5 separate regions of the Homo sapiens genome follow, and all the other regions are linked to region 4. The links are contacts of gene promoters, found by promoter capture Hi-C in human tissues and cell types (Jung and others, 2019). All regions are on one chromosome and are shown on one strand. The core of a region is centred on a gene start or on the middle of the fragment in contact, and the rest is flanking DNA. Distances in the headings are between cores, read along the strand shown.

What was found. Contacts are between HindIII fragments. The study calls those that stand out against the background at their distance.
Region 1: a contact is called between a fragment that was not itself captured here and the fragment with the promoter of RAB11FIP3 in region 4, in 2 of the 25 tissues and cell types used here (lymphoblastoid cells and mesenchymal stem cells).
Region 2: the fragment with the promoter of POLR3K here is called in contact with the fragment with the promoter of RAB11FIP3 in region 4 in 1 of the 25 tissues and cell types used here (lymphoblastoid cells).
Region 3: a fragment that was not itself captured here is called in contact with the fragment with the promoter of RAB11FIP3 in region 4 in 7 of the 25 tissues and cell types used here (dorsolateral prefrontal cortex, heart right ventricle, liver and 4 more).
Region 5: a fragment that was not itself captured here is called in contact with the fragment with the promoter of RAB11FIP3 in region 4 in 1 of the 25 tissues and cell types used here (lymphoblastoid cells).

The regions. Positions count from the first base shown.
Region 1 is chr16:119,127-124,658 of GRCh38, forward strand. It overlaps NPRL3 (NPR3 like, GATOR1 complex subunit), which reads right to left. Exons shown (of 14, transcript NM_001077350.3): 4 at 1-129. Among named protein-coding and RNA genes, the nearest start is that of NPRL3, 17 kb to the right of the region's middle. The HindIII fragment of the contact is 8,123 bases long and covers 1-5,532 here.
Region 2 is chr16:49,855-54,857 of GRCh38, forward strand. It overlaps POLR3K (RNA polymerase III subunit K), which reads right to left and starts at 3,754. Exons shown (of 3, transcript NM_016310.5): 1 at 3,622-3,754; 2 at 1,704-1,791. The coding sequence starts at 3,732. SNRNP25 (small nuclear ribonucleoprotein U11/U12 subunit 25) reads left to right here and starts at 3,974. Exons shown (of 5, transcript NM_024571.4): 1 at 3,974-4,204. The coding sequence starts at 4,163. RefSeq lists enhancers at 3,020-3,546, 3,275-3,434 and silencers at 3,765-4,084, 4,225-4,324. The HindIII fragment of the contact is 23,499 bases long and covers 1-5,003 here.
Region 3 is chr16:102,188-107,789 of GRCh38, forward strand. The region is part of intron 7 of NPRL3 (NPR3 like, GATOR1 complex subunit); the gene reads right to left. Among named protein-coding and RNA genes, the nearest start is that of MPG, 27 kb to the left of the region's middle. RefSeq lists an enhancer at 4,569-5,602. The HindIII fragment of the contact is 7,021 bases long and covers 1-5,602 here.
Region 4 is chr16:421,290-426,898 of GRCh38, forward strand. It overlaps RAB11FIP3 (RAB11 family interacting protein 3), which reads left to right and starts at 4,360. Exons shown (of 14, transcript NM_014700.4): 1 at 4,360-5,431. The coding sequence starts at 4,718. The HindIII fragment of the contact is 17,968 bases long and covers 1-5,609 here.
Region 5 is chr16:70,206-75,677 of GRCh38, forward strand. It overlaps RHBDF1 (rhomboid 5 homolog 1), which reads right to left and starts at 2,426. Exons shown (of 18, transcript NM_022450.5): 1 at 2,308-2,426. It overlaps LOC124903617 (a long non-coding RNA gene), which reads left to right and starts at 2,622. Exons shown (of 2, transcript XR_007064932.1): 1 at 2,622-2,731; 2 at 4,175-4,785. RefSeq lists enhancers at 186-1,003, 2,640-3,457, 3,458-4,274, 4,275-5,092 and silencers at 1,996-2,179, 2,426-2,485. The HindIII fragment of the contact is 4,515 bases long and covers 173-4,687 here.

The DNA of each region.
Region 1 (5,532 bases), core at 951-3,450, 300 kb before region 4:
TGCCCCAGAGCATGCTGTAGCAGTGTTGGGTGCCCAACAAATCGCACATTATCAATCTTCAGTTCAAATTTTTGGCCACACATTTCAGACTTGGTTGCCAAAATTGTTGCCAGAATAACATCTGAAAACCTTAAAATTTAAGAGAGGTAGAATAAAAATAAGTTAACAAAATACCACAGCACCATGCCCTGCTGGCCCCAGAGCGGAAGGGTCTCAGTAAACTGCACCTTCATGGAGTTGCTCTGCCCCGACTGCTGGTGGAAGCTACTAACAGTTGCCCTTCTGTAGCAATCCCAGAGGTTATGGATGTAAGATCACCAGAATTACAAGGTAAAAGGCATGAGAAGCACAGACTGAAGGCACATGCTGTCATTTTTTGGCATGCTCTATTAAATTCAGGAGAGAAACAGTTGCAGTTTGCTTTCAAAGGGAGGATCAGCTGGAGCCGGCACTGCCCTGCGGAGCTGCTCTTTAAAGTTCACAGGCAGAGGGGCCTCTCCCAGTTACACTCAGGTTTGCTGTGCTGCACCTTCAACTCCCAGGACCCAGGCCCTTCACCCACAGAGCGGCCCTTCACCCAAAGAGCCGCGTGGAGGGCAAGGGGACAGTGCACAGGGATGCGTGCAGAGCGCTGACTTCCTTCCTCATAGCATGGCTGCCCATCCGTTCCCTTATCCCAAACACTTAAACTTTCCGGTTTTTATCAGGGAAGAAGCTTTGTGCAAGATGTGCAAGCCCACTGTGATCACAGCTATTTCCAAATGGCAGAAATACCAGGTTGCACACAACTGGGTGCCACGGAGAAGTGGGTGCAGCTGTGGTGTGGGAGGGAGGGCATCCCTTTTCCCCTTTTCAAGGTCATCTGTGCCCTTCTGTCTCCTTACTGGCAATGCTGATGCCTCCTGCCTGGGGAGATCTGGATAAGGGAGTGTCACCTGCAGGGGTGCTGTGGGTGGTGCTGACTCTTATCTCAGAGTCCAGGGCTCTGAGGGCCTCCGCTCTAGAAACACAAATGTACTACCTCTGATCTGGACCCAGAAGAGAGAGAAGTCCCATACATATCTCTCCACCCAGGAAAAATATATCTAATATCTAGGTCAGGAGGGTGCACTCTCTTGGGGAAGCTCTAGCCTCCGCAGGGCCATACTCTGCCCCTGGGCAGGGAGACCCCTAAGGTCCTAGAAGAGACCACTGAGGACAGACATTCTAGGGTGCAAACCTGGTCATGCTTCTTCCCCAGAGGCCCTCTTGGTGAAGGGATGGGAGAGACTGACATAACTCCTCCATGTTGTGATGAAAAAGGAAGGCCTGCTTTGAACTGCACTGTAGCTCAGCTCTGTAATAGCAAATGGCAAGTAGCTACATGATTCTTTCCAAGTCTATCATGGGCTGTGGGGCTCAGACTGTTTTCCAGCCTTCCTCCTGAACTGGCACGACCCTCTAACCATCCGAAGTCACCCTAGGCTCACAAACAAACCACATACGAGGGTTTGGTCAAACCTATTTGTGCCATTTGGAAATAGCCTCTCAACCCAGTCAGGTTGCAGTTGGACCTTCTGAAATCAATCTTGTTAGAGTTATCCTGGGAAACGCAGGACCCACAGCCAAGTCCTCAGCAGCCCACTGCAGGTCTCTCCTGCAGAGATGGAGGATTCAAGTGCCTTACACCACAGGCATAATATGCTTTCTTCAAAAACCCTAAATGGCTCACTCTGTTCTATAACTCCCATCTGTGGGACATGGTAATGTTGAAGGAGGGTTTGAGGTATTAAAACGCCACCAAACACTTCTGCTCTAGCAACTGACCCAGGGCCAACGCCTCACATCCTATCTAAACAGTGCCCCTCCACTCTGCCACCCAGTGACTCAGGGGACACAGAGGTAACAGAAAAATAACCACCACCACTCCAGAAAGGTCCCTTGCTCTGACAGCCCAAAATCTCCACTAAAAACTGCTGCTCTGTCATAAAGAGTCACAGCCATGTCTCAGCCTCAGCCCTCAGGCACCAGTCCAGGGACCAAATTTAGTTTGGCTGTGAGATGGTCCCTGGGATTCTCAGAGGCAAGCAGTGGTAGCCCAGTTCGCGTTTATAAATACCTAAACTTCAAGGCGCCCTCACAACAGCCAAATAAAAGGCTCTTTCCCTGCTAGAGGCCAGGGTCTGCAGAGACGGCCAACTGGAAATCTGTGAGCTGAAGTAAAAAGGCACACTGGGCCAGGCGTGGTGGCTCACACCTGTCATCCCAGCACTTTGGGAGGCTGAAGTGGGTGGATCACCCGAGGTCAGGAGTTCGAGACCAGCATGGCCAACATAATGAAACCCCCGTCTCTACTAAAAATACAAAAATTAGCCGGGCGCAGTGAAGCCTGTAGTCCCAGCTAGTCGGGAGGCTGAGGCAGGAGAATCGCTTGAACCTGGGCGGCAGAGGTTGCAGTGAGCGGAGATCGTGCCACTGCACTCCAGCCTGGGTGACAGAGCGAAACTCCGTCTCAAAAAAAAAAACAGTCACATTGACTTAGTGGCTGTTCATGGAGCCCTCTGAGGCAGCCAGCAGGGTGGTAGTTAGCCATTGTTTATCTGAGCAAATCTGGCCCACAGAGAAATCTACTCCCCACACCTTAATATTACAAACATATAATGACAAAACGCTTTTTTTTCTTTTTGAGACGAAGTCTTGCTCTTGTCCCCCAGGCTGGAGTGCAATGACGTAATCTCGGCTCACTGCAACCTCCGCCTCCCGAGTTCAAGCAATTCTCCTGCCTCAGCCTCCCGAGTAGCTGCGATTAGAGGCACCCGCCACCACGCCCAGCTAATTTTTGTATTTTTAGTAGAGACGGGGTTTCACCATGTTGGTCAGGCTGGTCTCGAACTCCTGACCTCAGGTGATCCGCCCGCCTCGGCCTCCCAAAGTGCTGGGATGACAGGCGTGAGCCACCACGCCCGGCCCCATGACAAAACAATTGAGCGGCTTTTTCTTTTCCCCCTTGAGATGGAGTCTTGCTCTGTCGCCCAGGCTGGAGTGTAATGGCGCAATCTCGGCTCACTGAAACCTCCGCCTCTTGGGTTCAAGCGATTCTACTGCCTCAGCCTCCCAAATATCTGGGATTACAGGCGCGTGCCACCAAGCCCGGCTAATTTTTCATATTTTTTAGTAGAGACAAGGTTTCACCACGTTGGCCAGGCTGGTCTCGACCTCCTGACCTCATGATCTGCCCACCTCGGCCTCCCAAAGTGCTGGGATGACAGGCATGAGCCACTGCACCCATCTGGCTTTATACTTTATATAGTCTGTCTGGTAATGTAATACACATAAAGACAGAGTTATATTCATGAGATTGGGGGTGGGGCAAAACTTATAAACAGCAAACTGAACCATAAACAAGTGTTGTTTTGTTTTATTGGCTTCCAACATTTATGAAAATCCTTTTCCCTCATTTTGATGGTGAAAGGCCTAATAAATGTACTGCAGCACAATAAAACATCTGTTACAAAAACTGAAGATTCCTGGAATAACTTGGAAATTCAAGAAAAACACATTTAGGAAGATGAACCAGCCCAGCCAGAAAACAGGCCAGGACCTTCTATCACTGCCGAGCTATTCTGGAGTAGGGTTTGCTCTCTAGCTTGGACAAAAAAAGGGATGGAAAGACATCCTGGAAGGGAGCTCAGTTCTGCTCCCCCCACCCACCTAAAGGGATGGAAAGACATCCTGGAGGGGAGCTCAACTCTGCTCGCCCCACCCACCTCCTTGCTGGAAGCTCACAGACACTGTGTGTACCTCCAAGGCCCAGAGGAGATGCACTGTCAAGGGGAATGGAAGAGTCGCCCGTCATCCGTGCCCTCCTGGACAAGCACCATATCAATTCCATGAGAACATTTCTGCCTCTATTAAGCACACTCAATAGCATCTAGGCCTGAGCATCACACTTAATGCCCAACCCTTGGGAGAGGCCCCCACAAAACCCCTCAAAAAATAAAAACAAGGAGCAACAGTCACAGGTCTCTCTAGGGCGGCAGTGGACTAGGGAGATGACAGAGTCCACTCCTGCTTGCCCGCCACCCTCACAGGACTACTTGTGCCTACCTGGAGGAAGAGGAGGTTTGTGTGACATGCCTGGTCCCAGAAGTCTCCCGGGTGCCAGCCAGCCATGCCTTGGCCTCTCAGGTAATGTGAAATAGCTAAATGACTGGGTAGAGAAAAAGCCGGGGTGGTGGGAAGTCTGGGCATTCATGGGGGAACTGGGGCAGTGAGGTCCACGCCTGTGTGCCTCATCAGTCACTCTTCAACATGGAGGGAAATCAGGAATTAAGCACAATTACAAGAAGAGAAGGCAGCCGGAATCAAGACAGAAAGACGGTGGAGAGGTCTCGGTCTTACCCTGCAACCAATTGCTCATCGGTTGGAGGACATGGCTCGCTGAAATGGGAACAGGACCATCAAGACCAAACAAAAACATATCACTTTTTTAAAAACCATGAAAAGTTACAAGGCTATTTTATAAAAACTGCACAAAAGTCTAGCAGAAGTGCCACCATTAAGCATTAACTGTTGACCATCACGACTAAGCAACTTACCAGACAAGAAACAGGATCACACACTCCCCACGCTGAGAAACAGGGTCACACACTCCCCACGCTGAGAAACAGGGTCACACACTCCCCACGCTGAGAAACAGGATCACACACTCCCCACGCTGAGAAACAGGATCACACACTCCCCACGCTGAGAAAGAGGGTCACACACTCCCCACGCTGAGAAACAGGGTCACACACTCCCCACGCTGAGAAACAGGGTCACACACTCCCCACGTTGAGAAACAGGATCACACACTCCCCACCGCTGAGAAACAGGATCACACACTCCCCACGCTGAGAAACAGGGTCACACCCTCCCCACGCTGAGAAACAGATCACACACTCCCCACGCTGAGAAACAGGATCACACACTCCCCACGCTGAGAAACAGATCACACACTCCCAACATGTGAGAAACAGGGTCACACACTCCCCACGCTGAGAAACAGGGTCACACGCTCCCCACGCTCAACGCTTACCATGGGGTTTTCTCACTAAAAGTCAAATTCTCACACAGAAGTACAGGCTGGGCAGGAACAAAAGTCATTTTTCAGAAGTAAGCACAAGGCTGGCAGAGCTGGGTCAGACCCAGCACCATATGTATTAGCCGGATGCCTGTGCAGAAGTATCTCATCTTTTCTTTTCTTTTTTTTTTTCCTTTTTTCTTTTTTTTCTTCAAAAGAGACAGGGTCTCACAATGCTACTCAAGCTGGTCTCATACTCCTGGGGTCAAGCAATCCTCCTGCCTCGGCCTCCCAAAGTACTGGGATTACAGGCGTGAGCCACTGCACCCAGCCTAAAACTAATCTTTGTGGTAAAAGTTTTCTCATCTGCATGACAAGAAATCGCCTACCGAGGATCACATAAGACTCCCAGAGGCAAAAGCCTTCTGAAAACTATAGCGTGTCATATGAATTTCACCAGCTCCAATTCTTGAGATACTGTGACTGCCAGC
Region 2 (5,003 bases), core at 2,504-5,003, 370 kb before region 4:
GTCTCGATGTCTTGACCTCGTGATCCGCCCACATTGGCCTCCCAAAATGCTGGGATTATAGGTGTGAGCCACCGTGCCAGCTGCTAACTTTTTCACATAGCAGATTTGTATGTTCTTTTTTTTGACAGAGTTTCGTTCTTGTTGCCCAGGCTGGAGTGCAATGATGCAATCTTGGCTCACTGCAACCTCCACTTCCCGGGTTCAAGCGATTCTCCTGTCTCAGCCTCCCGAGTAGCTGGGATTACAGGTGCTGCCACCACGCCTGGCTAATTTTTTGTATTTTTAGCAGAAATGGGGTTTCACCGTGTTAGCCAGGCTGGTCTCGAACTCCTGACCTCAGGTGATCCGCCCGCCTCGGCCTCCCAAAGTGCTGAGATTGCAGGCGTGAGCCACCACACCCAGCCTATATGTTCTTTTATAGGGGGAAAACCACAGTACTAACCATCAGTTATCTCTCTCACCTCTCAATATAACTTACATTTACGTCTTCCCCTTTCCTCTCCTGGCCACATCTATGTCTACCAGACATGCAATAAACATGTATTTTACCCAATCTGCAGTTTAATGCTCACTGGTATTAACTTCTAAAAATCTATATTAGAAGCGTGTATTAGTCCGTTCTCACACTGCTATGAATACCTGAGACTGGGTAATTTATATAGACAAAAGGGGTTTTGTTTGTTTTGAGACAGAGTCTCACTCTTGTCACCGAGGCTAGAGTGCAGTAGTGTGATCTCGGCTCACTGCAACCTCTGCCTCCTGGGTTCAAGCAATTCTCGTACCTCAGCCTCCTGAGCAGTTGGGTCTACAGGCGAGCGCCACCACACCCGGCTAATTATTTTATCTTTAATAGAGACAGGGTTTCACCATGCGGGCCAGGCTGGTCTGGAACTCCTGACCTCAAGTGATCTGCCTACCTTGGCCTCCCAAACTGCTGGGATTTACAGGCGTGAGCCACGACACCCAGCCAAGAAAAGAGGTCTAATTTACTCACAGTTCTGCGTGGCTGGGGATGCCTCAGGAAACCTACAATCATGGCGAAAGGAACCTCTTCACAGAGCAGCAGGAGACAGAATGAGTGCGAGCAGGGGAAACGCAAACGCTTATAAAACGATCTGATCTTGTGAGAACTCACTCACTATCAGGAGAACAGCATGGGGGGAAACCGCTCCCATGATTCAATTACCTCCCACTGGGCCCCTCCCAGGACACCTGGGGATTACGGAAACTATAATTCAAGATGAGATTAGGGTGGAGACACAGCCAAACCATATCAAACAGAAAGAACATACTTTTTTCCTTAGACTCTTATTTTTATTAATCTACTCATCATTGCCATTATCAAAGCTATCACCTGTTGAGTGCCTCTTATATACCAAGCACGGTATAATTCACTTTATGCTCTCGCGGTCTACGAATATGGATTAGCCCCAGAGAAGTCAAGAGACCCAAGGAAGGTCCTACAACAATACAAGGTTGCCCTGAGAATCTGACCCGGGCCTGTATGACTCCAAGGCTGGCACAAATATTGCTTGTCTGACAGATTATTAAACAGTAACAAATACAAATAAATTATTCAAGAACCATTTTCTATTTTTAGAAACCTACATCATTTATATGACATCATAGACTCTGCCAAGCAGTGGCATCAACAGCCTCATAATTATCCACAGTTTAGCAACAGAAACAGTTTTCCCTCTTACCTGCAGTAGAGTCAACATTCTCCCAGGCAGCTGCTCCACCAAGCACATCATCCACTTCTTTCAGTTTTGGGTACTTCCGATTTGTTACCTAACAAAAACAACACTTCAGACTCCAAGTAACTGAATAGCGCAAACCTGGGCTGCCAAACCTTAAATTTCAGGATTACATAAGAGTTCACTCGGCTGGGCGTGGTGGCTGACACCTGTAATCCCAGCACTTTGGGAGGCCAAGACGGGCGGATCACGAGGTCAAGAGATCGAGACCATCCTGGCTAACACGGTGAAACCCTGTCTCTACTAAAAATACAAAAAATTAGCCCGGCGTGTTGGCGGGCGCCTGTAGTCCCAGCTACTCAGGAGGCTGAGGCAGGAGAATGGTGTGAACCTGGGAGGCGGAGCTTGCAGTGAGCCGAGATCACACCACTGCACTCCAGCCTGGGCTACGGAGCAAGACTCCATCTCAAAAAAAAAAAAAAACAAAGAGTTCACTCTTCCCGTAGTTTCAAACTCCAAACTCCCACAACACAGTACAAACTGGAGTAGCATGCAAACATTAAGACTGACGTAGCACCAACATATTCTAACTGCTAAAAAGTAAAGGTATTCTGGCCAGGCGTGGTGGCTCACGCCTATAATCCCAGCACTTTGGGAGGCCAAGGCAAGCGGATCACCTGAGGTTGGGAGTTCGAGACCAGCCTGGCCAGCGCGGTGAAACCCCGTCTTTACTAAAAATACAAAAATTAGCCGGGGATGGTGGCAGGCGCCTGTAATTCCAGCTACTCGGGAAGCCGAGGCAGAAGAATTGCTTGAACCCGGGAGGCAGAGGTTGCAGTGAGCCGAGATTACGCCATTGCACTCCAGCCTGGGAAACAGAGCGAGACTCTGTCTCAAAAAAAAAAAAAAAAAAAAAAAAAAAAAAAAAAAAAAAAAGGTCGGGCGCGGTGGCTCACGCCTGTAATCCCAGCACTTTGGGAGGCCGAGGCGGGCAGATCACGAGGTCAGGAGACCGTCCTGGCTAACACACGGTGAAACCCCATCTCTACTAAAAATACAAAAAAATCAGCCAGGGGTGGTGGCGGACGCCTGTAGTCCCAGCTAATTGGGAGGCTGAGGCAGGAGAGTGGCGTGAACCCGGGAGGCAGAGCTTGCAGTGAGCCGAGATCGCGCCACTGCACTCCAGCCTGGGCGACAGAGCGGGACTCCGTCTCAAAAAAAAAAAAAAAAAAAAAAAAAAAAAACAATAAAAAAAAATAAAGAAAGCACACAATACATTACATAATATATTAGAAGGTAATAAGCCCTATGGAAACAATTACAAAGGGAAGGAGAATAAATTGGAAGGAGGGGCTGAAATTTAAAATACGGTAAAGACAAGACCAATGAGTAAGGTGGCGATCTAGGGGAAGAGTGAACTGAGCAACAGCAAGTGCAAAGGCCCTGCTAGCACCATGAGCACGATGAGAGATCGTCCAGGAGGCGGTGTTGATGCGGCAAAGGGCAACAGGAAGGGCATTAGGACTTGAAATCGGAGACGCACGCAGGGGAGGGAGTCAGTGTCGGAACCTGGTAGGCCCTGGGAGAACTCCGGCTTTTCGTCTGCGTGAGCTGGAGAAGAGCCGAAGGTTTCTGCGCACAGCACGGACCTGCGTGCCTCAGCTTTAAGGAAATCACCGTGGCCGCCGCTGTGAACGCAGAGAAGGGCGCGAGCGTGGGAGCAGGAACCCAAGGCGGTGGGAAACGGTGGGGCTTTCTGAGTGTATTGGAAAGTAGAGCCCACAGATCTGCTGCAGACCAGAAAGGGGCGCGAGAAAGAGCGGACAGAGGCAGACGCCGGGGCTGGCGGCGATGGAGCAGCAGTCGGAGGACGCGGAAGGCCTGCGAGAGTCGCCCGCGCCCAGCGCCGGCCTTCGGGTCCCACCTTGCGGGTGATGTTGTGCACGTAGGGGCACGTGTTGCAGGCGAAGCGGTGGCAGCGTTGTCCCTCCTCCACGATCAGCCCGTTCCCGCAGCCGGGGCAGAACAGCAGCATGGTCTCGAACTCCGCAGGCTCCAACTCCCGGCAGCTCCCACTGCCGCTCAGCGCCGATGCGCCGCCCGCCTCGAGCTCACATTGGTCCTGGCAGCCTTCCCGCCACACCAACCAACCAATAGACAGGGCGATTCTGCGCTCCCGGCCCTGCTGCAGGCTGTCTCGCACTTGTCATTGGTCACTGCAGCCGCCCCACCCCCCCCGGCGCGCCAGTGGCTGGGCGGCCTCGCTGGGGCGGGCCGCAGTTCCTGCGCGTGCGCGCTTGGCCTCCCTAGTGCGGGCTGGCAGTGCGGGCAGAGCCCGGCTGAGAGGGGCGGCCCTGGAGGAGACGGAGGCCGCGGGTGGGCCCGAGGCGCAAGAGGAAGATGAGGACGAAGAAGAGGCGCTGCCGCACTCCGAGGCCATGGACGTGTTCCAGGAGGGTCTGGCTATGGTGGTGCAGGACCCGCTGCTCTGCGATCTGCCGATCCAGGTGTGTGCGGGCGGGGGCTGGGGGCGCGGGAGTCGTTCCCCGGGGTCCGGGCATCCGGGCGCCGGCAGCCTCCGAAGGTGCTGGTGGGAGACTGCGGCCCAAGGCTGAGGAAGGCGCCTCTGGGCGTAAACGAGGGTTTTAACCTTGACCGGGCGCACTCGCCTGGGGCGCGAAGCTTAAAGAGGAACCAAAAACCTCATTAGTGAGTGACATCAAATGACATTTTAATGTAATTGTATTTAGGGGGCTCGGGGGACAGGGTCTTGCTGCGTTGCCCGGGCTGGAGTGCAGCGGCGTCCTCCCACCTCAGCCTCCCGAGTAATTGGGACCACAGGTGCGCGCTACCACACCCGGCTAATTTTTAAATATTTTGTACAGAGGGAGTCTCACTATGTTGCCCAGGCTGATCTGAAACTCCTGGGCTCAGGCGATCCTCCTGCCTCGGCCTCCCAAAATGCTGGGATTTAGGTGTGAGCCACCCGCCTGGCCTGTAATACCTTTAAAAGTCAAAGTTGAGGCAAAAAAAGAGCCTACGGTAAAAGAAAAATTTAGTTTTAAATAAGAGCAAGATTAGTAGTACTGATTGTTCCATTTGCCTCAAGCGTCAATCATGTGTCAAAGCGTCAGTATCATGCTTTGGGACGATACTGTCTTTTTATTTATTTATTTATTTATTTGAGACTGAGTCTTGGTCCGTTGCCAGGCTGGAGTGTAGTGGTGCCATCTCGACTCACTGCAACCTCCCCCTCCCGGGTTCACTACAGGCACGCGCCACCACGCCCGGCTAATTTTTTGTATT
Region 3 (5,602 bases), core at 950-3,449, 320 kb before region 4:
AGCTTCTAAAACTCCCTGATGGAGAAGCCAGGGCGCCACCCAACTCCACCGCTCACCACAAAGCGCCCTTGCCTTAAGTAAGAGCCAACAGCACTTGTTCTATGACACAGAGGAGATGCAACTGCTCAAGCAAAGCTGTCTGCAGCTGGCCTTCACCGCATCCCCGGAGGCTCCAGGCAACAGGGGGGATCTCCACCTACTCTTGTCAAGGCCTGGCTACTCAAAGTGGCCGGCACCTTCCTTGTGTCCTGCACAGGGAACGCAGCCTGTGAAGCCTCACAATGACACCAGTTCTAAAATAGGAGCAAAACACACACAAGTTCTTCTCCAAACTGCCCATTTCTACAGCACCTCCCCGCATCATGTTTCCTCTGTTCACTGCCCCACTGCCCAGGAGAGCAGCCAACTAGTGCTTTTCCCATCACCCCCTGACCCTATTCTGCTATTCTCAGCTCCCAGTTGGCGGGACAGGCCAACACACCCACATCCGGCTAAGTCCGGGAGACTTGGCCAGACTTCTGGCTGCCCCAGGCCAGAAGGTACAAACGGCCCCTCGGACGTCTCTTAGGACACGTCAATACGGGGTGCTCAGAGAACACCATGGCCCCAAGGTCCCAGAGGAGGGCAGCAGTCTCAGCTTCTTCCAGAACTGCATGCTAACCAAGTATGTCGGGGCAGACAGAGGCTCCCAGAACCTTACCTCTCTTTGGTCAGGGTCTTTGCAGGGTGAAAAACTCGTATCAAACCCTGAGAAATGTCCCAGCCGCTAAGGAATTAAAGATCACACCAGGAGAGATTTGTCCAGGGGATCCAGGTTACTCAACTTGAGTAAGCAATAGTTAGGATCTTGGCATCCGTATGCGACAGGGAAGAAAGGGCAAGCGAGAGGTGGCCCCATGCACTGTGCTGTCACCATCTGGGTCAGAAAGGAGGGCCACTGGAAATAAAAGGTCTATTTTTTTTTTCTTTTTTCTGAGACAAGGTCTCACTGTTGCTCAGGCTGGAGTGCAGTGGCGCCATCTCCGCTCACTGCAGCCTTGATCTCCCAGGCTCAAGACAACCTCCCAAGTAACTGGGACTACAGACGTGCAACATCACGCCTGGGGTGATTTTTTTTTTTTTTTTTTTTTTTTTTTTTGTAGAGACAGGGTCTATGTTGCCTAGGCTGGTCTCAAACTCCTGGGCTCAAGCGATCCTCCCACCTTGGCTTTTCAAAGTGCTAGGATTACAGGCGTGAGCCACCGCACCCACCCAAGGCCTTTCTGTTTCTGTCCTATTTAGGATGCAGCTCAAAGTGGCTGTTGGGACACCACAGAATCAGAATACGGAGGCTCCTATTGTTTCAAATGTAGCTGTCTTTGCTCCATCTAGGAGCACAGTGAGGCCTTATGACATGTGCTGTGGCTCCCAGCACCAGTTTAGGTACTTGGAGTGCAGCAGGGAAGAAAATAACTTGGCTGCTCTGCACGCTGGGGGCTTCACTCAGCGGCATCTAGACAGACACATAATTGGCCGGGCGTGGCGGCTCACGCCTGTAATCCCAAAACCTGGGAGGCCGAGGCAGGCCGATCACTTGAGGTCAGGAGTTCGAGACCAGCCTGGCCAACATGGTGAAACCCTGTCTCTACTAAAAATACAAATATTAGGCCGGGTGCCGTGGCTCACACCTGTAATCCCAGCACTTTGGGAGGCTGAGATGGGCAGATCACCTGAGGTCAGAAGTTTGAGACCAGACTGACCAACAGGGAGAAACCCCGTCTCTATTAAAAGTACAAAATTAGCTGGGCGTGGTGGTGCATGCCTGTAATCCCAGCTACTTGGAAGGCTGAGGCAGGAAAATCACTTGAACCTGGGAGGTAGAGGCGGAGGCGGAGGTTGCACTGAGCTGAGATCGTGCCATTGCACTCCAGCCTGGGCAACAAAAGTGAAACTCCATCTCAAAAAAAAAAAAAAAAATTAGCCAGGTGTGGTGGCAGGTGCCTGTAATCCCAGCTACTTGGTAGGCTGAGGCAGGAGAATCACTTGAACCCAGGAGGCGGAGGTTGCAGTGAGCCGAGATCGCGCCATTGCACTCCAGCCTGGGTGACAGAGCAAGACCCTGTCTCAAAAAAAATTGAAATTAACGTTTAAAAAAAAAGACACCTAATTGTAATCAAATTGTATGGAGCATTAGAAACTGGAGAGAGTTATAGGGAAAGGAACAGGGGCTTGGAACACACCTCATGGAAAGCCAGGAACAAGTTCCAGCTATGGGTATGGAGAAATGAGGGCAGGAGGGTCACATGAAGGTTCTTCTAGTGACTTCCCAGCTTGGTCATCTCTGCTGCCCTCACCGTGTCAGCTGTCCTTGGAGCCGCAGTCATGTGGTCTGGTTTGTACACTGGCATGGGGCCCTCTCCTCTGGCAGAGACACGCCATGTTGGTTCCTCTAACTTCCACGTGGACTTTACTCCATTTTCCCAAGCATCAGCTCACCCACCTGCTGCTTTCTCCCTCAGAGCACTCTGCACTGAGGCTGGTGCTTCTTTATGAACTAACCCAGCTCCCTAGAGCGGTGACAAGTGCTGCCACCAGGAGTGCCCCAAAGGCCATGGCAGACCTGGGCAAATTCCCTGAACATGTCAGAGGGATGACTGCTCTGGAAAGGTGCCGGCCCAACCTCCAGCCTGTAAATCCCCCACAGTAAGAGGGTAAGCCAGGAGCTGCACTGAGGTCTGTTAACAAGGGGAAAGAGAAAGGTTTGTCACTGTTTTTAAGTCTGCAGCTTTAAGACAAGAGCCCTTAGCACAAGCAGGGTTTGGGCCCTGAAAGGTTTCCTGCCGAGCTTGCACTTCTATTTGCAAGGTGTTTAATGGTTTGGTCTGAAAACACTCTGGAGGAAAACACTGTCCTCCTCAAGACTTATCCAGCCCCTCACACAGCTCTGGGCCAGCCAAGAGGGCCCAGCCCAGTCTGTGACAGGAGATAGGTGCCCCAGCCAAAGCCCTGCATCCTGACAATGACTATGCAAAAGGGAATGGCTGGCTTCAAACACACTCTCGCCGTTCATCTCCAAGACAGAAATGTGCACAAGCTTAGTCTAGTCCCCTCAGCTTTTAGCATCTGAGAAAGCATCCATTCCTAACCTTAGAACTAGACAGGACCTGTGAAGCTATCCTGCAAACCTCTGCATCCTCTGGTCCCACGGATGGGCCTGGCTTCCTACCATAAGTAGTGGGATGCTGCATAACCCAAAAGATCTATGTGGGTTCCAAACAGCCTACCTTGAAATTTCAAACGAAAGTTTATATATAGGTGCATTTTTATGGAAATGGGTACTACAACTCAGGATATTCACAGAGGGTCCATGGGACCAACCCTGCTCTCGACAGTTTGCAGTGCAAGGCTCCGCACCAAGTACCACCTACCCAGCCAGACCCTGGACATCACTCCCCACCACAGGTCCTGTTAACTCGGAGAACCATTCAGCAAATCACTTCTTCACACTCCATGGAATCTACACTGCTGTTATTCCCACCCACACATTCCGTCGACCCCTAGCGGATGAGCTGTGCTCCTCCACAGGCTGAGTGTAGGGGCTGTGTTGCAGAAAGTGAAGAGACATCCCTGCCCTCCTGGGAGACACAATTCAATGGTCATATGAATGAGTGACATGCTGTCACTGAGGGCCACTGGGATCCACAGGGAGACACAAGTGCTAGGTATGGCACAAGTGTTGGGGTGGCCTCCTGAGCGATTCACATTCCCAGCCTATATTCACAGATGTTAGGTCCTGCAGGACAGGGCCACCAGGCTATTCAGCCACACCATAACCCTAGCTTTAATTAAAATAGCAACTGGGGACCGGACGTGGTGGCTCACGCCTGTAGTCCTAGCACTTTGGGAGGTCGAGGTTGGCAGATCACGAGGTCAGGAGTTCAAGACCAGGCTGGCCAACATGGTGAAACTCCATCTCTACTAAAAATACAAAAATTAGCCAGGCCTGGTGGCAGGCGCCGTAATCCCAGCTGCTCAGGAGGCTGAGGCAGGAGAATCACTTAAGCCCGGGAGACGGAGGTTGCAGTGAACTGAGATTGTGCCATTGCACTCCAGCCTGGGTGACGAAGCAAGACTCCGTCTCAAACAAACAAATAAATAAATAAATAAATAAAATAGCAACTGGGGGCAGGGCATGGTGGCTCACGCCTATAATCCCAGCACTTTGGGAGGCTAAGGTGGGTAGATTGCTTGAGTCCAGGAATTCAAGATCAGCCAGGGTAACATGGCAAAATCCCATTTCCACAAAAAAATACAAAAACTATTCAGGCGTGGGGGCGGGTGCCTATAGTCCCAGCTACTCGGGAGGCCGAGATGGAAGGATCACCTGAGCCTGGGAGACAGATGTTGCAGTGAGCCAAGATTGCGCTCCAGCCTGGCAATAGAGTGAGACCCTGCCTTAAATTAAAAAAAAAAAAAAAAAAAAAAAAAAAAAGAACCAGGAACAATTCCTTTGAAAAATCCCACCCCAATCTCCAACCTCATTAATCTCACAGCTTCTGGTCTTTCAGTTCTGTTCTGAGATTCCCCCAGATCTGGCAGTCAGTCACCATCAGGAGAAAGGCGCTCTGTCCTAGGTCACCTGATCAGTAATGGAAACTCAGTCTCCTCCTCTCAGTGCAGAAGAGTGAGCAGCAGCAGACCAGACCCTTGAGGCCAACCATGGACCTGATGGGATGAGGACAGACGAGAGGCCACAGCCCAGAGGGGCTCCTGGGTGGCTGCAGAGCCATGCCAGTGCCAGACAAGGATGGGTACAGGGAGGGTACTACTGCCTGGACTCCTGCCAGAGAAACATAGCTGCCAGCATCCCTGGGGCAAGCTCCAGGACCCAAGACTGTTAGGGTGGGAGTTTGGATGGAGGAAATGTGATCCTGGGCACTAACAAACAGAATGCGTAGGTCAGGAAAGAATGCTACATGCTGAACAACAGCTTAGGAGCCTTTTTCAGCAAAACTCAGATTCCTGTCCTCCTTTAATATCCACTAGGTGGCGCTGGGTTGCCTCAAGTTCTGAGCTCCTCCGCAGCCTGCAGATCACACAACAGGCAGTCCAAGGTTTTGTCTCCTTTCAACTTTCCAGCACGATTCAAACCTAAGAAATCATAGTCCATTCTTCCTTTAGAAATATAAAGTCAACGAGCCGGGCACGGTGCTCACGCCTGTCATCCCAGCATTTTGGGAGGCCGAGCCGGGCGGATCTACAAGGTCAGGAGTTCGAGACCAGCCTGGCCAATATGGTGAAACCCCATCTCTACTAAAAATACAAAAATTAGCCAGGCATGGTGATGTGCACCTGTAGTCCCAGCTACTCGGGAGGCTGAGGCAGAAGAATGCACTCCAGCCTGGGCAACAGAAGGATATTCCATCTCAAAAAAAAAAAAAAAAAAGAAGAAGAAAAAGAAATATAAAGTCAATGGTTTGGTTTTTATTTAAACAAATTTTTAAGAGACAGGGTCTCACCATGTTGCTGGGGCTGGAGTACAGTGGCTACTCAGACACCAGCATAGAGCACTACAAGCTCGAACTCCTGGGCTCAAGTGATCCCCCAACCTTGGCCTCGCCTG
Region 4 (5,609 bases), core at 3,110-5,609:
GCCTGTAATCCCAGCACTTTGGGATGCCGAGGCGGGTGGATCATGAGCTCAGGAGATCGAGACCATCCTGGTTAACACGGTGAAACCCCGGCTCTAGTAAAAATACAAAACAATTAGCCAGGCATGGTGGCGGGTGCCTGTGGTCCCAGCTACTGGGGAGGCTGAGGCAGGAGAATGGCATGAATCCGGGAGGCAGAGATTGCAGTGAGCTGAGATGGCGCCATTGCACTTCAGCCTGGACGACAGAGCAAGACTCCGTCTCAAAAAAAAATAATAATAATAATAATTAGGGTTAGATACGGTCAGCAAGGTGGGGCCCTCACGATGGGAACAGTGCCCTTATTAGAAGAGACAGTCTTTTTTTTTCTTTTTTCTTTTTTTGAGACGGAGTTTCACTCTTGCTGCCCAGGCTGGAGTGCCATGGCACAATCTCGATTCACTGCAACCTCCGCCTCCCAGGTTCTAGTGATTCTCCTGCCTCAGCCTCCCAAGTAGCTGGGATTACAGGCATGCACCACCATGCCTGGCTAATTTTTTGTATTTTTAGTAGAGATGGGGTTTCACCATGGCAAGCCTGGTCTTGAACTCCTGACCTCAGGTAATCCACCCGCATCGGTCTCCCAGAGTGCTGGGATTACAGGCGTGAGGCACCGTGCCCAGCCTTATTTTTATTTTATTGTTTTCCTTGAGATGGAGTTTCCCTCTTGTTGCCCAGGCTGGAGTGCAATGGTGGGATCTTGGCTCACTGCAACCTCCACCTCCCGGGTTCAAGTATTCTCCTGCCTCAGCCTCCCAGGTAGCTGGGATTACAGGACACGCCACCACGCTCAGCTAGTTTTTGTATTTTTAGTAGAGACAGGGTTTTACCATGTTGGCCAGGCTAGTCTCGAACTCCTGACCTCAGGTTATCCACCCGCCTTGGCCTCCTAAAGTGTTGGGATTACAGGCGTGAGCCATTACGCCCGCCTTTTTTTTTTTTTTGAGATAGTCTCGCTCTGTTGCCCAGGCTGGAGTGTAGTGGCTGGATCTCAGCTCATTGCAACCTCTGCCTCCCAGGCTCAAGTGATTACCCTGTTCAGCCTCCTGAGTAGCTGGGATTACACGCACCCGCCACCGCCCCCGGATAATTTTTTTTCTTTTTTTTTGAGACAGAGTCTCACTCCATCACCCAGGCTGCAGTACAGTGGTGTGATCTTGACTCACTGCAACCTCCACCTCCCGGGTTCAAGCAATTCTTTGCCTCAGCCTCCTGAGTAGCTGGGATTACAGGTGCCCGCCACCACGGCCGGCTAATATATACATATATTTTTTAGGTGGAGTCTCGCTCTGTCGCCAGGCTGGAGTGCAGTGGTGCGATCTTCGCTCACTGCAACCTCTGCCTCCCAGGTTCAAGCGATTCTCCTCCCTCAGGCTCCCGAGTAGCTGGGACTACAGGTGGGTGCCACCACACCCGGCTAATTTTTGTATTTTTAGTAGAGACAGGGTTTCACCATGTTTGCCAGGATGTTTTCGATCTCTTGACCTTGTGATCCGCCCACCTTGCCTCCCAAAGTGCTGGGATTATAGGCTGAGCAACCGCGCCCGGCCTAAATTTTCTATTTTTTAGTAGATACGGGGTTTCACCATCTTGGCCAGGCTGGTCTTGAACTCCTGACCTCGTGATCCACCCGCCTCGGCCTCCCAAAGTGCTGGAATTACAGGCATGAGCTCCCACGCCCAGCCCAAAAGAGACAATCTTTCTCCAACATGTGAGGACAGAGTGAGAAGATGGAGGCTATGCTTTGAATGTTTATACCCTCCAAAACGCATGTTGAGGCCAAGTGTGGTGACTCATGCCAATAATCCCAGCACTTTGGGAGGCCGAGGTGGGCGGATCACTTGAGGTCAGGAGTTTGAGACCAGCTTGACCAACATGGTGAAACCCCGGTCTCTACTAAAAATACAAAAAATTAGCCGGCCTTGGTGGCATACGCCTGTAATCCCAGCTACTCAGGAGGCTGAGGTAGGGGAATCACTTGAACCCGGGAGGCGGAGGTTGCAGTGACCAGAGATCGCGCCATTGCACTCCAGCCTGGGCGACAGAGTGAGACTCCATATCAAAAAAAAAAAAAAGATAATAAGGTGCTGCAGATCTGTGGTCTCAGCTACTGGAGAGGCTGAGGTGGGAGGATCTCTCTTCTATTTTTATTTTTTATTTTGGAGACGGAGTCTTGCTCTATCATCCAGGCTGGAGTGCAATGGTGCAATCTTGGCTCGCTGCAAGCTCTGCCTCCCGGGTTCACGCCTTTCTCCTGCCTCAGCCTCCCAAATAGCTGGGACTACAGGTGCCTGCCACCACACCTGGCTAATTTTTGTTTTTTTGTATTTTTAGTAGAGACGGGGTTTCACCGTGTTAGCCAGGATGGTCTCCATTTTCTGACCTCGTGATCCGCCCGCCTCAGCCTCCCACAGTCCTGGGATTACAGGCATGAGCTACCACACCTGGCCTAAGGTGGGAGGATCTCTTGAGCCTAGGAGGTTGAGGCTGCCGTGAGCTATGGTCGCACCACTGCACTGCAGCCTGGGCAACAGAGCAAAACCCTGTCTCGGGGAAAAAAAAGAAAAGAAAAGAAAAGAAGGAACTGCTACAGCCCACAGCCTACAAAGGGGACACAGATAGTAGCTCTGAACAGCAGACGGATAGACGGGAACTTGTCCCTTTAGTCTTTCATGAACAGCCTCTAACTGGTCCAGGCAGGGAGGTGCAGGCTTCCAGGCTGTGGTTCCATGGAGGACACCAGCCGGGCACGCAATGGACGTTTTCCAGCCCTAGCACAGACAGAGCGTGCGGGCCCCTGCTCTCAGAAAGCCAGCCTTCTGCCTCTGGCAGCGCCGGCACATAAAAGCAGAGGGAGCCTGCTGTCTCTGCCTCGCCCACACTAACACCCCTATTTAGAAAGGTTGACACATCACTATCACTGCTTCTGAAAATTTTATCCGGCCGAAGGCATCAGCCCAAATTTGAATTCTTGCCAAAGCTGCTGGTGATTTCGTTCTTTGAATGCAGTATCTTCCTCATGAACACGTACAGCTCTTACAAGAAAATGAGAATACGGTTTGGGGAGGAGGATCCCTCACATTCCTTTTCCTAATGCCAGCCTCGCGAAGTCTGGTCCCATGTACCCTGGGATTCTGCCACGGAAGATGACTCACTTAATTAACACGCTGCTCCTGACCGTACACTTGGAAGCAGAGGTTCCGTTCCTTTGGTTCTTGCCAAAGCTGCTTACGAAACCATATCTTGTGTTGGTGCCCATGGTGTGTAAAAATACAAGTTCATCATTTCCCTGATACAAATTATGACAGGCTAAATTTAGTGCCTCACCTGTCCTAACTAGCTTTCCCACCATCATGCCTGCCGCCGGGCTGTGGTCCTTTCTGAGGTCCCGTGTCCCTCTGAGGACAGGGACACCCAGACACAGAGGTCAGTTGTCAGACGCGGCCACGGTGCTCGGGAGGCTGGCTGCAGACGGGCGATTCACCCTGGGTGTCTTCTTGAGTCTTATTTTTTGTAGAGACGAGGTCTCGCTTTGGTGCTCAGGCTGGTCTCAATCTCCTGGGCGCAAGCGATCCTCCCGCTTGGGCGTGGGCCAGCGCGCCCGTCCCAACGCTGGGAGTCCCGGAGATCTTGGTCACAGGCTTAAGGGAAAGGCCTAGCGCGTGGCCGCGCGTGCCTCTGGTTTCAAGGGACATGGACTGCGTGTCTGGGGCCCCTCCGCACTCCGTGTCAGACCCTGCGTCCCCCGGGTCCGCGCGGGACCCGGGCAGGGCGTCGCCCTCTGCGGCGTCTGCGCCCCGCGAACCCTGGGGCACCTGCAACCCCTGGGCCGCGGAGCCAGGCGTGCGCCGCCTCCTGGTCTCATCAACGTGAGAACGCTTTACCCCCGAAGAGCTCAGCTCCTAGGGGGCTATGTCCCTTTGCGTCTCTCGCTCGCCAGGCGGTGCCGTTTACTCGACCGCACCATGCGTGGGTAGCGGTCGCGCCCGCTGGTAGCTGTGCGGCGGGAACACGTTCTAAGTAAGGCCTGACTCCGCGCGCCTCTTGCCAGGGACGTCACGTCACGCCTCCACTCGCAGCCTCGGAGCACCCCCGCGTCCCGCGCCCGAAGCTCGGGACCCCCGCTCTGGCGAAACGAGGAATATGACATACAGCAAAACACCCCTTCGCGGCCGCTGCACTGCCGCGACACACCCGGCGCCTGCCTCTACAGCAAGCCGGCGAGGGGCTGGGACCCCGCCGGGACGTGCTGACGTCAGGCCCGACGGGGGGCGGGGCCTGGGCGGCGGCGGCGTTAGTTCTCCGGGTACCTCAGGCGCCTCAGCCTCCTTAGTCTCCTCATCCTGCTTCACAGGCTCCGCGGCCTCCGGCCTCCTCGGCCCCCGTCCCCCGGCCTCCTCGGCCCCCGTCCCCCGCCATCCGCCGCCCGGATCCTCGCCGCCCTCCCTAGGCCGCCCCGCCGCCATGGGCCTGCGCCCGCCGCGCCGCCGGGCCGAGGGCAGCTGAGGCGCGGTGCGAAGATGGGCGAGGACAGAGCAGGGCCCGAGCGCCAGCCCCAGCAGCCCGGGCGCCCCGCGCGCGCCCGCCCGCGCCGCCGAGGGGATGCCCGCGCCCGCCGCCGCGCCCTGAGCGCCTTTGTCTGCCGCCCGCGCCCTTCCGCACCACTAGCCTCTCGGGAGCATGGCGTCGGCCCCGCCGGCCTCGCCCCCGGGCTCGGAGCCGCCGGGGCCCGACCCGGAGCCGGGCGGGCCGGACGGGCCGGGGGCGGCACAACTGGCTCCGGGCCCTGCGGAGCTACGCCTCGGAGCGCCCGTCGGCGGCCCCGACCCGCAGTCCCCGGGCCTGGATGAGCCTGCGCCCGGGGCCGCTGCAGATGGCGGGGCGCGTTGGAGCGCCGGGCCGGCCCCGGGGCTGGAGGGAGGCCCGCGAGACCCCGGGCCGTCCGCCCCGCCGCCGCGCTCCGGCCCGCGGGGGCAGCTTGCGAGCCCCGACGCCCCGGGCCCAGGGCCGCGCTCCGAAGCGCCGCTTCCAGAACTCGACCCGTTGTTCTCCTGGACTGAGGAGCCCGAGGAGTGTGGCCCCGCGAGCTGCCCGGAGAGCGCGCCTTTCCGCTTGCAGGGGTCCAGCAGCAGCCACCGAGCGCGGGGCGAGGTCGACGTCTTCTCTCCCTTCCCCGCGCCCACGGCGGGCGAGCTGGCGCTGGAGCAAGGTCCCGGGTCCCCGCCGCAGCCCTCGGACCTCAGCCAGACCCACCCCCTTCCGAGCGAGCCCGTGGGGAGTCAGGAGGACGGCCCCCGCCTCCGAGCCGTGTTCGATGCCCTGGACGGGGATGGGGACGGTTTCGTCCGCATCGAGGACTTCATCCAGTTTGCTACGGTCTACGGGGCAGAGCAGGTACGGAGCGGCCCGGGCCGGGGCGTGGGAACTGGGCAGGTGCGCGCTGGCCGGCGGGGTTGATGTGGGACCGGTCGACGCTGCCCCTGGAGTCGGGAAAGGCACTGTCAAGACCTGACGGTCCTGCTTTTTCTGCTTATTCACCACTTCGGCCCTGGATTTCTGGTTGAATTGCGCT
Region 5 (5,472 bases), core at 1,180-3,679, 350 kb before region 4:
ACACTAGATTCTGGGGGTAAACTGCCTGGTATGCTGGTCACTGCTAGTCCCCAGTCTGGAGTCTAGCTGGGTCTCAGGAGTTAGGCGAAAACACCCTCCCCAGGCTGCAGGTGGGAGAGGCCCACATCCCCTGCACACGTCTGGCCAGAGGACAGATGGGCAGCCCAGTCACCAGTCAGAGCCCTCCAGAGGTGTCCCTGACTGACCCTACACACATGCACCCAGGTGCCCAGGCACCCTTGGGCTCAGCAACCCTGCAACCCCCTCCCAGGACCCACCAGAAGCAGGATAGGACTAGAGAGGCCACAGGAGGGAAACCAAGTCAGAGCAGAAATGGCTTCGGTCCTCAGCAGCCTGGCTCAGCTTCCTCAAACCAGATCCTGACTGATCACACTGGTCTGTCTAACCCCTGGGAGGGGTCCTCTGTATCCATCTTACAGATAAGGAAACTGAGGCTCAGAGAAGCCCATCACTGCCTAAGGTCCCAGGGCCTATAAGGGAGCTCAAAGCCTTGGGCCAGGTCTGCCCAGGAGCTGCAGTGGAAGGGACCCTGTCTGCAGACCCCCAGAAGACAAGGCAGACCACCTGGGTTCTTCAGCCTTGTGGCTGTGGACGGCTGTCAGACCCTTCTAAGACCCCTTGCCACCTGCTCCATCAGGGGCATCTCAGTTGAAGAAGGAAGGACTCACCCCCAAAATCGTCCAACTCAGAAAAAAAGGCAGAAGCCAAGGAATCCAATCACTGGGCAAAATGTGATCCTGGCACAGACACTGAGGTGGGGGAACTGGAGCCGGTGTGGCGGAGGCCCTCACAGCCAAGAGCAACTGGGGGTGCCCTGGGCAGGGACTGTAGCTGGGAAGATCCTAGGGGAGGGCCTGATGGTCCCTGAAAGGCAGGGGAGACCTGGACGACTCCCCCTAAACCAAGAGCGCACCCTAGAAAGTCAGCTCCCCAAGGTGGGGACCGGCCAGCTCATGAGGGGTGCTGGTTGAGGGGCCTGCTTGTGCAACGGAGGCCACCCAGCCAGTGAAAGCTACTTGGAAGGGCTGGGAAAGGGTCTGAGGCCCCTTCAATCTGGCACCACCAGACTCCCATGCACTCCATTTGCCCCTGCCCCATTCTCAGGAAAAGGGGCCCGGCTTGCCCAGAATGACCCCTGGTGGCAGGGGGCTCCGCCTCAGGGACCCCTTGAGCCCCAGCCAGCTGCTTGGTCCCCAGCTTCTGCCCACCCTTGGGGTCGGGGCTAGGAGGTTGGGGTTAGCTCCACAGGGGTGAGGAGAACCGAGCCTGGGACTGCCCAGGCATCTAGCTGGGTCAAACCTGAAAAGCCAGTTTCATCCTTGAATCTTCTCCCGGTCTCCAACAGGAAGTCCCGTTGGCGGGTGGGAGTTCCCAGGATAGGAGAAGGGCCTCCAGACCTAGGCCCCACCCACCGGGACAGACACACACATTCACCATCTCAAGCGGCACACACAGAAGAAACTCTGGTCAGGACCACCTCGGTCGGAAGCAGGCCCTGGGGGGCCAGGGAAGATCCCCTGCCCATTCCCCGCCCAGCCCCACAAACATGCCCCCAGCATGACAGACAACCAGGCCCTCTGCCAATGCCCTGAGCATCTGGGGTCTGGCTGTCACCCCAGCCGGGAGAAGGCCTGTCCCCGTTGGCCTCTGCGCACAGAGTGAGAGTCTGTCTTCGGGAGTCGCTCCCAGCCCACCCTGGAGCTTCGAAGTGTACAGATGGGGGAGTCAGTGTCGTGGGGCAGAAGGCGGAGTCAGTCCCCCACCCCCAGCTCCACGGCTCCTGCTATTCCCATCGGTGAGGGCAGCCGGGACAGGGACCATCCCGCCCTGGGCTGGAGTTTCAGCTCGGAGACACCACCCGCCGGTCGTGGCCGGGAAGGAAAATGCAGCGGGGGGAGTTCAGAGGAACCTGGGGCACCCCCGGACTCTAGACTCCCGCTCCTGGGACCCTCAGCTGTTGGGCGGGGGCTGGAGCCGAGCTGTCCCGCCCGGCCAGGCCGCTGGGGCTGCTAATCCGGCCACGGGCTATTTTTGCGGCGCGCCGGGCTAGGAATCCGGGGCTGGGCCGCCTCCGCGGGCGACTCGGGAAACTCCAGGAAGAAAAGCCCGGCCGCCCCGGGGGGGCCTCGCCGCGACCCCTCCCCGGCCCCGGCCCCGGCCCCGACACGGCCCCGGCCGCTCTGAGCAGCTCCGGCCCCGGGTGCTGAGGACTCGCCCCGCCCTCCGGACGCAGCCCCGGAACCCGCCCGCCCCCGGAGCCCTGCGCTCCCGGCCGCGCTCACTCACTGCCGCCGCCGGGGGCTCTGGGGGGTCCTGAGGGCGCCGGGGAGGAGGCTGCCGCCGCTGGCCGGGAGGGCCCGCGCCGAGTCCCCGCCCGCCCGCCGGTCCGGCCCGCCCGGGAATGCCCTGGAGCGAGGGGCGTGCGCCCGGGGGCGGGCCCGGCCGGAGCGGGGCGGTCGCGCTGACTCAGAGCTCAGGAATGCGCGCCGCCCGCCTGCCCGGCCCAAGTCACCTCCTCCCGGAAGGCCGCCGGGCTCCCTTCTCCCCAGGGTCCGCCTGCGGGGACACCTGGGGCTGGGGTCTCCAGCGCCTCGGCCCGACGGAGGACCTGGTGGGAGCGGACCGCAGTGTCAGCGCTGGGCGGCTCCGCCTCTCCCTGGCTCCAGATTGAGGCTTGAGCTGTCCTGCCCTGATTTGTGCTGAGAAGAGGGTGAGGAGGGAGAGCAGGCACGGGGTAAAGGGCGGAGGATGGGTGTGTATCCCTGGCTCCCCTAAACCCGACCTCCTCCAGAGGCCCACGCTGACAAGTCCTGTATCCCACACTCACCCAATCCCACTAAGCACTCACATTCCCTCACACACATTCATGTGCACCGATCACTCACAATCATACACACACGTCCCCACATCCTTCCACTTCATGCGTTCATTCGCCTGCACATGCACGTGCTCACATGCACCCACCTACTCATGTACATCTTTCATGGGTACATACACGTGCACACACACACGTGTACACACCGATGCACACACTCAGTTCAGGACCACAGTCATTACCCCTCCCCCTGCCCTGTGCCCCTACCCCCAGAAGCCCCGCTCCACCAGCAGGCACTCAGGCCAGGCTGCACCGGCCCCACCCGAAGCCACTCAGCAGAGGCAGCGCAGTGTCTGGTGTCCACTCTGGGCTCTTCTCACTGTCTCAGAGCTCAGCGGCCACCCCGGGGTGGGCTCATATCCCTGCACAATCTGGGCTGGACTCAAAATGGCACTCTGCTTTCCGCTGGGGCTGCTGGTGAGAGTTTCCCAGCATTTCTCTCCTGACACTGGGTGGGCTGACCCTCCCAGGGTGGGGGACAGGGGTGCCAACAGCAGAGTACGGGCAGGGCTGTCCAGGAGCTCTGAGTGGTGGGTGGCCAAGGCTTCCTCTGGATAGAGGGTGCAGGGATCCCTTCGTCCCATGGGTCCCTAAGGACCCCTCTACAGGGTGCCCCCCCATGCCTCGGACAAATGTGTCTTCAGGCCCTGTGCTGGTCACAAGGTGCTGCTGCTTCAGTGCCATCCTCTGGGTCTGGGTGGCACCAGCCCTCTCCAAACTGAGCTGTTGCACTTGAGGGCCCGACGCAGACAATGGCCTGCTCCTTGGCTAGACAGAAAAGGGGAGAATTTGAACTAAAGGTGCTGGTACACTTACCGGTAGATCCCAGAGCCTGGGCAAGATTCCCCTGCCCATATCCTTGTCCATGCCACGGGATAGGGCGGTGCCTGCACATAATGGGTGCTCTCTGAACACAAGCAATATCAACACAATTCTCATGTAGAAGGAGACAATGGAAGCTTTGGAGGGGGTGGAGGGTAACTCCACCAGGGGATGACTGCCAGTGCATCACGGACACCGGGTGAGAGGGAGCCTGCCCCAGTGCCAACACTCAGTGCTCCGATAGCCTGCACGTGCCACCCCTCCCATGCCAGGCTCACAGCCAGAGACAGGACAGTCTCCATGCTTAGCATTATTGACCTGCCAGGGATAAGCAAGCCCTATCGGGCCTGGATGCCCAGACTAGGCTGGCAGGGCCAGAAGTGGTGTCCTCTCTGGAAAGCTGGGGACTGGGCTTGCCTCCAAAGCATGCCACAGCTGGGCATCTGGTGTCAGCAGGTCTCCTCCTGCAGTGGACTCTGTCAGACCCCACCTAGACCCGCTCCAAGACCCAGACACTCATCGCCAGCTGCCAGGAGCACCAGTCACAGCTGGCTCAGAGCTGAAACCCCCCGCACCCAGGAGTCACCTTCAGTGGGGAGCATGCCCCAGTCTGCCTCTGCAGGCAAATCCCCAGCTCAGAGCCTGTGTCCAGGAATCCCCAGGCTCTCAGCCCACCCTGGCCTCCTGAGTGAGGTCATCAGAAGGATGATCAGAGGGGGGTCGATACACGTGTGCTCAGTGTCAGGCCTCTGAGCCCAAGCCTGCACGTATACATCCAGATGAAGCAAGTGAAGAATCACAAAAGAAGTGAAAATGGCCGGTTCCTGCCTTAACTGATGACATTACCTTGTGAAATTCCTTCTCCTGGCTCAGAAGCTCCCCCACTGAGGCACCTTGTGACCCCCACTCCTCCCCGCCACAGAACAACCCCCTTTGACTGTAATTTTCCACTGCCCGCCCAAACCCTATAAAACGGTCCCACCCCATCTCCCTTCCCTGACTCTCTTTTCTTCGGACTCAGCCCGCCTGCACCCAGGTGAAATAAACAGCCTTGTTGCTCACACAAAGCCTGCTTGGTGGTCTCTTCACACGGACGCGCACGAAACTCAGGATTGTACCCAGTCCACATAGACAAGTGTGTGCACATATGTGTGCTCTGCCTCCTGCCTGCCCTACTACTCTCTGTCCTGGTGGAGGAGCCCCCTATACGGAAACCCAGCTCCCGGCCCCTCTCTTCCCGCGTCATGCACCCTGGAGAAATGGAAATCAGCTGCAGTTGCCCAGCACTCCCGGGGCTGGTGGGCAGGCGTCTGAGAATGGGTTAGGGTTAGGGTCTAGACCAAACCCAGGGTTTGTGGCCCTCACACCAGGACACGAGGGAATGGGAGCCCTGACCAGTAAGAGGAGTGTTCCCAACAGCTACCCCAGAATCCTCTGCTACCCCAGAATCCTCAGCTCAGCTTCTAGGCCACAAGTAATCACCCAAGGGGTCAGACCCTGGGCTTTGGGGAGTCCCTGGAAGGATCAGAAGAAACCGCCCGGGGAGCAGGGCTCCAGGGATGGGCCCATGACCAGCTCCTGGCTATTTGGGGAAGAGGCAGAAGGGGGCCAGGCCAGCCAGTGGCCTGAAGTCATAGGCTATTTCTGAGGCAGCTGCCCCCTCCCCATATCCCAGGGTTTGGCAAGGGGTTCCCATAAGCACCTGGGCCCAGGGCCTGGCAGCACAGCCCCAGGCAGGGAGGATGTAGCTCACA